3 separate regions of the Homo sapiens genome follow, and regions 2 and 3 are each linked to region 1. The links are contacts of gene promoters, found by promoter capture Hi-C in human tissues and cell types (Jung and others, 2019). All regions are on one chromosome and are shown on one strand. Each heading gives the region's core, a stretch centred on a gene start or on the middle of the fragment in contact. The rest is flanking DNA. Distances are from core to core; before and after follow the strand shown. Region 1 overlaps ADCY9 (adenylate cyclase 9). Region 2 holds the start of CORO7 (coronin 7). Region 3 holds the start of TRAP1 (TNF receptor associated protein 1).

Region 1 (3,710 bases), core at 1-2,500:
TGCAGTTCCCAGTGTTCACAGGCTCGGCCGCGCTGATTGCCGTCGTGCACTACTGTAACTTCTGCCAGCTCAGCTCCTGGATGAGGTCCTCCCTCGCCACCGTCGTGGGGGCCGGGCCGCTGCTCCTGCTCTACGTCTCCCTGTGCCCAGACAGGTACGCGGCCAGCACTGCTTGCGGGCACCAGGGTGCGTGGCCACCTTGCCCGAGGTTGCGTAGGGCCTGGCTGCATTTGCACATTGCTTCTCACGCCCCGATAGAGATATTTCCCATCATGACCCAAAATAGCTGTCAGCACACATCATACCAAAGAGCTAATGAGATGCCCTCAGAGTAATATGCAAAAGAAAGAAAAAGAATATCATTTAGAACAGCACTCTGGGTAGTTGAATGTAGACATCCTGGAAAACATAATGCTGCCATTGCATTATACCGAGGTGACTTCTGATGAATGGGCTGGAATCTAAGAAAGTAGGACCTGAAGGATTTCATAGAAGATGGTCAAGGCCATGAAAGAGCGGAGCTGCAGATGGATGTGAAGGTGGAGAGGAAGCTGGTGCTGACTTTCCTTGAGTGGGGTAGGGTTCATGAACCGGGACAGGTCACAGCCTGGAAGGAGGAGGTGAAGACGTAGGATGATCTTGCAAGTCACCTGGGGCTTATTTCAAAATATTATGTCAGGCTGGGCACAGTGGCTCATGCCTGTAATCCCAGCACTTTGGGAGGCCAAGGCAGGCAGATCACCTGAGGTCAGGAGTTCAAGACCAGCCTGGCCAACATGGTGAAACCCCGTCTCTACGAAAAATACAAAAATTAGTCAGGCATGGGGGCGTGCACCTGTAATCGCAGCTACTTGGGAGGCTGAGGTAGGAGAACCGCTTGTACCCGGGAGGCGGAGGTTGCAGTGAGCTGAGATTGTGCCATTGCACTCCAGCCTGGGTGACAAGAGTGAGATTCCATCTCAAAAACAAAAAATAATAAATAGGTCAAAACAGTTCCCCATATGATGTCATGAGACGTAGGATTAATGACCAGTCACTGAACATAGGTCTTTTATTTTGAAATCCTCTGCATACTGAGGAGGACGCTGGCCTTCAGAACCGTATCACTGGTAGGTGCTGAGGAATGGGATGGCGCAGACACAGAAACAGGAGTCAGGGAGGCCGGTAGACCTCTGGGGACAAGCCCAGTTCTCATCATTGTACTACAAAAAATGTAAAAACTTACAGGATGGCAGTGATAGGTGCTATATTTAAAATATTTGCCATTAGCGACATCCAGTAAGATCCCTATCTTTCATGTGTTGCACTAACTGAATAATTCTTGATTTGTTAAAAATAAGTCCCAGCCGGTCTTGGTGCTCACGCCTGTAATCCTACCACTTTTGGGAGGCTGAAGCGGGTGGATTGTCTGAGCTCAGGAGTTCAAGACAGCCTGGGCAACACGGTGAAACCCTGTCTCTACTAAAAATACAAAAAATTAGCCAGGCATGGCGGTGTGCACCTGTAGTCCCAGCTACTCAGGAGGCTGAGGCAGGAGAATTGGTTGACCCTGGGAGGCGGAGGTTGCAGTGAACCGAGATCGCGCCACTGCACTCCAGCCTGGGTGACAGAGCAAGACTCAGTCTCCAAAAATAAAAATAAAAAATAAGTCTCAAAATTGCCTATTACACATTTGCTACTGGTTTCAGGGTATTTTAAGCCTTTTCAACTAAATGTGTTGTTGGAAATACAGTAATACCTTGTATAACAGAATGTAAGCAGTGAACAATTTATTCAAATATTTCGTGATATCTTAAACCCATTAAGCTTCCATTCATGTAATAAATTTCTCCCAAATATTGGGCTTTTCCTATAACTGCTTATAAAAATGTTTCACTATTAGTGTGTATTGAAGAACCGCCTGTTTACAATTACAGAGGGTTTAGGTGCGCAGAATGTTTTAAAGTCACATGGGACATTTCTTCCTTGTCCTTGCAGGAGATCTAACATTCTGGCTCCCTGAGTTATTAAGAGAACCAGAGGGACCCCTGGCATTTCCGAAATGCCCCGTTGGAGTGGCATTGCTGTTGCCAAGGACCTCTGCTTGAATTCATTCAAAAGCACAAAATGATTCTATTTGCCGCAGTATTGTCAGTATCAGACGGAGTAGGCACGGGGTGTCTTTGGTTATTAGCAAAGCAACAGTCCAGCCATGGGCAGTGTGAGCATCCGTCCTCAGTTTACTTAAGAAAAGAATCACAATACAAAAGACATTTAAATTCCCTGCAAATTAAGATCAAAAAGGGAATTTAAAATAGGACTGTCATTCAGTACTTGAAAGGAAACTTTAATGAATAGATTAAGCAAAATAAAGCAGACTTGGATTTTTCTGAAGGTATGGCCATCTAGAACGATGGTCACGATGAGCTCTTTCTCGAGAGTATGAAATCCAGCAAACTGCTTTTTACCTTTTAAATCCATCACAGGTCCCTCATCGGGCATTCACCGTGGCCTTTAGTCATGGCTGCGGGGCTTTTCTACCTGGAGCTGGAGAGCCACAGTGATGGGGGACCCCTCTGCCGCCTTTGTGCCCAGAGTTCAAATAGCAGATCTGGGGTAGGGATGATGGTTGAAGTTCCACTCGGCCCAGAACTCCTCCATCCACTTGAGGCCTCAGAGCCCCTAATCCCATCACGGTTGCTAAGCCTCAGCAGGATAGAGAGGATGCGGGATGGTAAACAAAGACGTAAACTCAGCTTTACCAAGGGAACTGCCCCCAGCATTGGGAGACACAGATGTGAAGAAAGAGGTGGGAGCAGGTGGCTTTATGTGGATGTACAACCACGTCTAAAAAAGGAACATAGTTTGTTCAAGCTCTTCTCAGGTTGCCTTGTGGAATGCCTTCTTTGCTCTTTATGATAATATTTTTCTGCATTTTAATTTCAGTTCTGTATTAACTTCGCCCCTTGACGCAGTACAGAATTTCAGGTAAGCTTTTAATATTGCACTTCTGTCTGAATAAACGAGAGTGACTGTATTACCCTGCCCATTTCGAAGCTTCCTGAAAACAATGGGATCTTGAATAAAAGGAACAATACGTGCATTCTTAGAATAGAAAGTGGAAAATATCTCCTCGTTGAACTGTATCATAGTTATAATGTCTAATGGGGAAAATAAAATTAGTTTTATTATTTTAATAAGACATTACAGTCATGTAATTTTATGTAAGACTTTCGCATGCAACAAAGGAAATCTCGCAAATCAAAGAAAAAAGTTATTTTGTAAAATATTTTAAAATAACCGACTTGAAATCAGCCAGGCACGGTGGCTCACGCCTGTAATCCCAGCATTTTGGGAGGCCGAGGCGGGCGGATCACGAGGTCAGGAGATGGAGACCATCCTGGCTAACACGGTGAAACCCCGTCTCTACTAAACAAAATACAAAAAATTAGCTGGGCATGGTGGCGGGCGCCTGTAGTCCCAGCTACTCAGGAGGCTGAGGCGGGAGAATGGCGTGAACCCGGGAGGCGGAGCTTGCAGTGAGCCAAGATTGTGCCACTGCACTCCAGCCTGGGTGACAGAATGAGACTGTGTCTCAAAAAGTAATAAAATAACTGACTTGAAATCCAAAATACTAAATGTTTGACCCTTGCTTTACTATAAACAGCAGAATAAATTCTAAATAAATTGAAGAGTCGGAAATAAAAATTAAACTATATAAAATCTAGAAA
Region 2 (3,710 bases), core at 395-2,894, 440 kb before region 1:
TCCCAAGTAGCTGGGATTACAAGCACCCACCACCACGCCCAGCTAATTTTTATATTTTTAGGACAGACAGGGTTTCACCATCTTGGCCAGGCTGGTCTTGAACTCCTGACCTGGTGATCCACCCACCTTGGCCTCCCAAAGTGCTGGGATTACAGGCGTGAGCTACCGCGCCCGGCCAACCTGATGATTTTCTAAAAACCTTTTTGGACTGGGCGCAGTGGCTTATGCCTCTAATCCCAGCACTTTGGGAGGCTGAGGCAGGTGGATCACTTGAGGTCAGGAGTTTGAGACCAGCCTGGCCAACATGGCAAAATCCCATCTCTACTAAAAATACAAAAATTAGGAGTAGTGGCGCACACCTGTAATCCCAGCTGCTTGGGAGGCTGAAGCAGGAGAATCGCTTGAACTCAGGAGGTGGAGGTTGCAGTGAGCTGAGATGACACCACTGCACTCCAGCCTGGGCAACAGAGTGAGACTCTGTCTCAAAACAAACAAACAAAAAGCCTTTTCAATAAACCACAAGTGACTTTGGTTCACAGTAAATACACTTCTGCCCGAACTAAGATAAAATGTAAGCATTGCTTTTCAAACCTTAGAAATGCAAGAATCAGCTGGGTGCGTTGGCTCATTCCTATAATCCCCACACTTTGGCAGGCCAAGTTGGGAGGACTGCTTGAGTCTCGTTCGAGACCAGCCTGACCATCATGGTGAAACCCCGTCTCTTACTAAAAATAAAAAATTAGTTGGGCGCGGTGGCAGGCGCCTGTAATCCCAGCTATTCGGGAGGCTGAGGCAAGAGAATTGCTTGAACCCGCGAGGCAGAGGGTGCAGTGAGCTGAGATCGCGCCACTGCACTCCAGCCTGGGTGACAGGGACTCCGTGTCAAATAAATGAATAAATACTAAAGAAAAATTAAAAGCTATTATTATTATTATTTTTAGAGGCAGGGTCTCTTTCTGTCTCCCAGGCTGGAGTGCAGTGGCACGGTCACAGATAACTGCAGCCTCGACCTCTTGGGCTCAAGGGATACTCCTGCCTCAGTCTCCCAAAGTTCGGGATTACAGACCTGAGCCACCGCGCCTGGCCGGATGCAGAGCGCCTGGCCGGATGCAGAGGCTTTTGAGTAGGCCCGGTGGACAGGGATTTGCTTTAGACCTGGGCCCCTGTTCCCCCTCTGCCTCTTACCACTGGTGTGACCTGGGGACCGACAGTTTACACTCTCCTTTAGCCGGGGGTTTCCTGTCTCTGAAATGGAGCTAATTTCTCCCCTCTCTACAGGAAGAGGTAGATAGTGCTGGAAGGCGTGCTAGGTACACCGCAAAGACTCCACAGCAAATCCTGCACACAAAATCGCGAATGCTGCAGCCGAGACCCCACGCAAGCAAGCACCGCAGGAGACGTGGGCTGACAGCTGCGCCCCACGTGACCTCCCACCCGCGCCAGTCCGTCCCCTCGGTATCAGGGCGTGGCCTCGCGGGGCGGCCGTACCTGGATTGGCCGGGAGGCGGGACCGGTGGTGCGCGCGCGAAAGGAGAGGGGCTTGGGGGCGTGGCCCAGGGGGCCGGAGACGGCTGCGATTGGCAGTGGGGCGCGCCGGGGGCGTGACCGCGGCATTGGGTCCCGGGTGGGGCCGAGGCAGCGGGAGTCGCGGTTGCTCAGCGTGCACCTGAGACCCGACGCCCGGGGTCCTCGAAGACGCGTCCGCCGCCGTGCCCGTCGCCATGAACCGCTTCAGGGTGTCCAAGTTCCGGCACACCGAGGCTCGGCCGCCCCGCCGCGAGGTGAGTCCGGCCCGAGGACCGGGCGCTGTCGCCTCGGGCCCCGTCCGGCTGCCCCTCCCCCTGCCCGGACCCCACAGGGGTGCCCTCCAGGGCCGTCTGGAACCCCGAGACCTCCATCCCCGGGGAACCCCCCTTCAGGCCAGGGCCCCGGCGTCCGGGCCGTTTCGTCGCCGCCGGAGGGCAGAGTCCGGCACTCCCGTGACTCGCTCTGGCGCTCGGTGACCCTGGCGGTCTGCCCGCCTCGCCCACCTCGCCCCGGGACCCCCGAGGCGGCGCAGCCCTCCTAGCCGGGGCCCAGGCCTGCGAGGCCGCCTGCCTTCCCAGCTTCCGGTCGGCCTCGCCGGGAGCCGGGGCTCGGGGCGCTGCCGGCGCCTGGCTCCTCCTCCCTGCCGCCCCGGGTCGCCCCTGCCCCTGGCTGGGCTGTGGGGAGACGCCCCTCTCTCCTCTGGCCCCGGCGAGCCCAAGTGTGTCAGTGGTGGGGAGGGAGCCCCTCGGCCGCACGCGCCCCTCCCTCGGGTTTCCGCCGGTGCTTCCTCCTCTCGCCGCTGGCGCAAGCTCTTTCTTTATCTCGGTGATGCTGCCACGGCTGGGTGGGGCCTGGGGAAGCCTGAGCAGGTGGAGCCCCAAAGAATTGCTGAGCCAGGTGCCGGGAGACCCTTCGGACCCCCGAAACGGCAGGAGGACTGATGAGGGGTGCGCCTTGGAAACGATGTCAGCTCTGCTCTTCCGCTTTCCGTGTTATTTGTAAGGCCTGGGAGTGTCCTCCGATAACTGGGCCTAGGAGTTGACCTCAAGTGACCCCATCAGGGTCCCAGAGCAAGTCAGGGCAGTCTGGGTAGAGGTTCCGTTTTTGTAGTGTGGACTATATTTCCTCTGCTTCCACTTTATGCTGTGCTAAGCTGCTGGAGACATCCCGGTGAACACAACGGCATTTTCCTTCCCCTGTGGCACTTGTAGCCTCATGAGGGAGACAGCAAGCAGACAAACAAGAGCATTGGAGGTTTTCATAACGACATTGAAGAACACACATGAGGGACTGGGATGGAGAATGGAGGGGGCCAGTCTCAGTAGCGTGGTCAGGAAAGGCTGCCTGGAGTAGATGGCATTTTAGCTGAGGCCAGAAGGGTGAGAATTGAGAAAGAGCCTGGTGGAGAAATGGAAAGTGAGCATGAGTGGATGGAGGGGATGGCCGGAGCAGTATGGTGACAGATGAGTCCAGAGTGGTCCTGCAGAACCCAAGGGCCACCGGAAGAAGTTGGGTTTTATTCTGATTGCAGTGCAGAGCCATTGAAAAGTTAGGGGGAGGGGCTGGATACCATGACTCACGGTAATCCCAGTACTTTGGGTGGACTGCTTTGAGCTCAGGAGTTCGAGACCAGCCTGGGCAACATTGCGAAACCCCTCTGAACAACAAGTTAAAGAAAAAAAAATTAGCCAGGTGTGGTGACTCACTCCCGTGGTCCCAGCTACTTGGGAGGCTGAGGTTGGAGGATCTCTTGAGCCGAGGAAGTGGAGGTTGCAGTGAGCCGAGATTGTGCCACTACACACCAGCCTGGGCAATAGAGTGAGACACTGTCTCAAAAAAAGAAAAAAACAAACAAGAAAAGTTAGGAGGAGGTACCTAGGTTTGCATCAAGACAGCCGGTGGCTCTGAGTGCAGTTAAGTACTGCTTGGAGGGGTCTGGAGAATACTTGAGGGGCCCTAATTCTTGCTCCTGGGTGGGCCTTAGTCCAGCAACATAAACAGATAGGCATGGAACTACAGACTGTAGGGAGAGCTTAAAACAGTTTATGTTAGGGAGGCGGGAGAACAGGTGATCTGTTCTTTTCAGAGATATTTGCAGTCACTGTGTTTATACAGTAAACATGAATCAGGAGGGAGAAATAATAGGGTGGGACTGATGCTGTAACCATGGCAGGTGAACACTG
Region 3 (3,710 bases), core at 323-2,822, 260 kb after region 1:
GTCTTCACAACCTGTTTTTTGTTTGTTTGTTTGTTTGTTTGTTTTGAGACAGGGTGTGGCTCTCTTGCCCAAGCTGGAGTTCAATGGCACGAACTTGGCTCACTGCAACCTCTCCCTCCTGGGCTTAAGCAATCCACCCACCTCAGCCTCCCTTGTAGCTGGGATTACAGGCCTCCGCCACCACATCCGGTACAGGTATGTTTGGTACAGACAGGGTCTCACCATGTTGCCCACGCTGCTCTCCAACTCCTGACCTCAAGCAATTCGCCCACCTCGGCATCCCAAAGTGTTGGGATTACAGGTGTGAGTCACCGTGCTCGTGCCCACAACCCCTTATCTTCACCCAGACACTCTTTTTATTGATTCCAGGTCTGTATAACTCAACTCTTTTTTTTCTTTTTTTTGTTTTCTTTTTTTTTTTTTTTTGAGACGGAGTCACAGCTCTGTCGCCCAGGCTGCAGTGCAAGTGGCACGATCTCGGCTCACTGCAACCGCAGCCTCCCGGGTTCACGCTATTCTTCCGCCTCAGCCTCCCCAGGAGCTGGGACTACAGGCACGTGCCACCTTGCCCAGCTAATTTTTTGTATCTTAGTAGAGATGATGGGTTTTCACCATGTTGGCCAGGCTGGTCTCGGACTCCTGACCGCAGGCAGTCCGCCCACCTCAGCCTCCCAAAGTGCTAGGATTACAGGCGTGAGCCACCGCGCCCAACCAGAACTCAACTCTTTTAACCAATTGCCAATCAGAAAGTATCTGAATCCACCTATGACCTCTAAGTATTTCACCCTTTGAGTTGTCCTGCCTTTCCACACGGAACCAACCTATGTCTTACATGCATTGACTGATGTCTTATGTCTCTCTAAAATGTATAAAACCAAGCAAGCTGTAACCCAAGCACCTTGGGCCAAGTTCTCAGGACCTTTTGAGACTGTGCCTCCCTCCATGCACACTCATATTTGGCTCAGAATAACCTTCTAAATACTTTAGAGTTTGACTCTTCTCGACAAGGACAAGAGAAGTGGAATAAACGAATAACCGCAGTTTTCCTGGTGGTATTGGTCACTGGGTTCAGGTTTTGGAGTAGTAGCCAGTCAAGCCTGGAATCCCCTTCCTCATTCGCTTTAGCTTTTTGTCCAGTCTTGGTTTGCAAGAGACTTGCAGCGGCCTAGACGGATGGCCGGGATTCACAAAGGTCGCAGACACGGGAACTGCTTCTTCCCCAGCGTCGCCTCCACACCCTCGCGTGGATACTGACATCCGCCCCATTCCAGGAATGCGCACAGCTAGGCGCAGCCGGCCAGCGTGGGCCGGGGGCGGCGGGGCCACCTCCCCCACCTCCGCGCGCAAGGCCCGTCGCCCTTGACAACGCGATCCAAGGTCACGGAGGTCCCACCCCCAGGCCCGACCGTCCACGAGACGGGTAGTACCCCGCCACGCGCCCGAGCAGGCAGCTGCCCGGACAGCCCGGCGCCCGCCGTGACGTCACCGCCCCGCGCCCGAGGAAGCCCCGCCCCGCGCAGCCCCGTCCCGCCCCTTCCCATCGTGTACGGTCCCGCGTGGCTGCGCGCGGCGCTCTGGGAGTACGACATGGCGCGCGAGCTGCGGGCGCTGCTGCTGTGGGGCCGCCGCCTGCGGCCTTTGCTGCGGGCGCCGGCGCTGGCGGCCGTGCCGGGAGGTGAGGGCGTCCTGGCTGGACGGGCAGCGGGCGGGCCGGGCCACGGAGACGGCAGGGACGTCCCTGTGCTCCGGGGAGCGAGGCGCCGGCACCTGCTTCACAGGCGTGGGAGGTCCGGCGAGGCCAAGCGCGGCAGACGCGTTTACTTTCGCTCCGCTCCTCGCCAGCTCCAGCTTGGCTGCCTTTTCCTCGGCTGGACTCCCCTCGCCACCCGCCCATGGGAGCCCTGAAGGAGGCTGGGTCTTGGGGGGTCGCGGGGTCGGGCGGAGCGGCTGCGGGGTCGTCCCTCCTGGAGCTTCGGTCCAGTCAGGTAGCGCACGTGCAGGTGGAGCCGCTGCGGAGCGCGGAGTCTTTGCGGGTGCATGTTGCGGGGAATGGACTCACTCGGGGTGATCGTGCTAGTTCCATGGATCGTGCTTTACCCCTCCCCGCCTCCCAGTAGCGCACTGAGGGTTCATTTGTTAATTCGTTCATTGGACGCACATGTGAGCGCCCGCTCAGTGCCCGGCGCCGTGCAGGTTCTGGGGACGCCACAGTGAACAAAACCTATAGCAGTCATCCGGGTCCCCAGAGCAGGTGGACTCGATGTCGTTGACGCAGCTGTGTCCTCGGGGCCTGGAATTGATGGATGCGCCAATAAATGTTTGTAAAACAGAGAGAACGACCCTAACCTCTGCTTTCCCAGTCCCCACTCGGAGGTAACAACAGTGAAAGTTTCGGCATTGCTTCGGGGCTGTACACAGTGTTATACGTGTAAATATAAATGTCTGCGTATAAGTATTTTTTATTCTAAAAAGCCTAAACCATGTATGCATTGTGCTACGTTGTACTTCAGAAAATTTTAACGCTCCCAGCATTCTTTCCACATCTTTTCATGTCAGTGTATACAGGTCCATGTGCCTTCCAGTGACCACACAGTATTCTGTATGATGGACGTGTCATTTGTTTAAACATTGTCCTATTAGTGGACGCAATAAAGGTTATTTCAGGTTTTACTTTTTATTACAATGCTGCATAGAATGGGTGAGTACTTAAATATTTGTTCACGTGCGGTATTTCTTTAGCCTTACATAATTAGAATTTTAGAATTGATATTTCAGAGCCTATGCATTTTTGAAATGTTAGCAGATACTGCCAAATTGTCCAAAAAGGCCTTATCAATTTATATCCCCTTTAGCAGGCATCAAGACTGCCTATTCCAAAGGTATTTTCTTCAACGCTGAATCTTATGTCTTTTCAAAACCAGTGGTCTATAAAAGATACCTTGTGGCCGGGCGCGGTGGCTCACGCCTGTAATCCTAGCACTTTGGGAGCCTGAGGTGGGCAGATCAGGAGTTCAAGACCAGCCTGGCCAACATGGTGAAACCCTGTCTCTACTAAAAATACAAAAATTAGCTGGGTGTGGTGGCGCGCGCCTGTAATCCCAGCTTCTTGGGAGGCTGAGGCAGGAGAATCGCTTGAACCCAGGAGGCAGAGATTGCAGTGAGCTGAGATTGCACCACTGCACTCCAGCCTGGGCGACAGAGTGAGACTTCATCTCAACAACAAAAATAATAATAATTTTCCCTCAGAAAGTGATGCTGTTGCTCTCTTCTAGCACCAGTGTCTGATCAATTATTTATTTATTTTTTTGTCTTTATGAGGTGGGGTTTCACTATGTTGGCCAGGCTGGTCTCCAGTGCCTGACCTCAAGTGATCTGCCTGCCTTGCCCTCCAAAATGCTGGGATTGCAGGCGTGTGTCACCGTGCCTGGCCAACTGTTCTGTTAATTTGGTTCTCGTTTCTTTTGTAGCTGACTCGGGTTTTTTCCCCCTTGGAGGTTAAGATTTTTTCTCTTTGTCGTTTGTGGTCTCGCGTCCACAGGTGTTTGTGATTCATGCTTTGTATCATGCACTGTCCCTTCCATTTGGAAAATATGTCAGTTTTCAGCCCAGGGACATTTTAATTCTGTTTCTTTATCTCTTTTTCTTTTTCTTTTTTTTTGAGATGGAGTCTTGCTCTGTCACCCAGGCTGGAGTGCAGTGGCGCGATCTTG

Evidence for each region. The method cuts DNA at HindIII sites, captures the fragments that hold promoters and counts their contacts. A contact is called where the count stands out against the background at its distance.
Region 2: a contact is called between the fragment with the promoter of CORO7 here and a fragment that was not itself captured in region 1, in 1 of the 25 tissues and cell types used here (dorsolateral prefrontal cortex).
Region 3: the fragment with the promoter of TRAP1 here is called in contact with a fragment that was not itself captured in region 1 in 3 of the 25 tissues and cell types used here (bladder, heart right ventricle and mesenchymal stem cells).

The regions. Positions count from the first base shown.
Region 1 is chr16:3,973,926-3,977,635 of GRCh38, reverse strand. It overlaps ADCY9 (adenylate cyclase 9), which reads left to right. Exons shown (of 11, transcript NM_001116.4): 9 at 6-154; 10 at 2,926-2,967. Among named protein-coding and RNA genes, the nearest start is that of TRIDDENT, 25 kb to the right of the region's middle. The HindIII fragment of the contact is 3,508 bases long and covers 1-3,004 here.
Region 2 is chr16:4,414,530-4,418,239 of GRCh38, reverse strand. CORO7 (coronin 7) reads left to right here and starts at 1,644. Exons shown (of 28, transcript NM_024535.5): 1 at 1,644-1,781. The coding sequence starts at 1,722. CORO7-PAM16 (CORO7-PAM16 readthrough) reads left to right here and starts at 1,644. Exons shown (of 31, transcript NM_001201479.2): 1 at 1,644-1,781. The coding sequence starts at 1,722. It overlaps LOC124903635 (a long non-coding RNA gene), which reads left to right. Exons shown (of 3, transcript XR_007064963.1): 3 at 1,279-1,515. The HindIII fragment of the contact is 38,450 bases long and covers 1-3,710 here.
Region 3 is chr16:3,715,386-3,719,095 of GRCh38, reverse strand. It overlaps TRAP1 (TNF receptor associated protein 1), which reads left to right and starts at 1,572. Exons shown (of 18, transcript NM_016292.3): 1 at 1,572-1,675. The coding sequence starts at 1,588. RefSeq lists silencers at 1,222-1,831, 1,852-1,971. The HindIII fragment of the contact is 28,184 bases long and covers 1-3,710 here.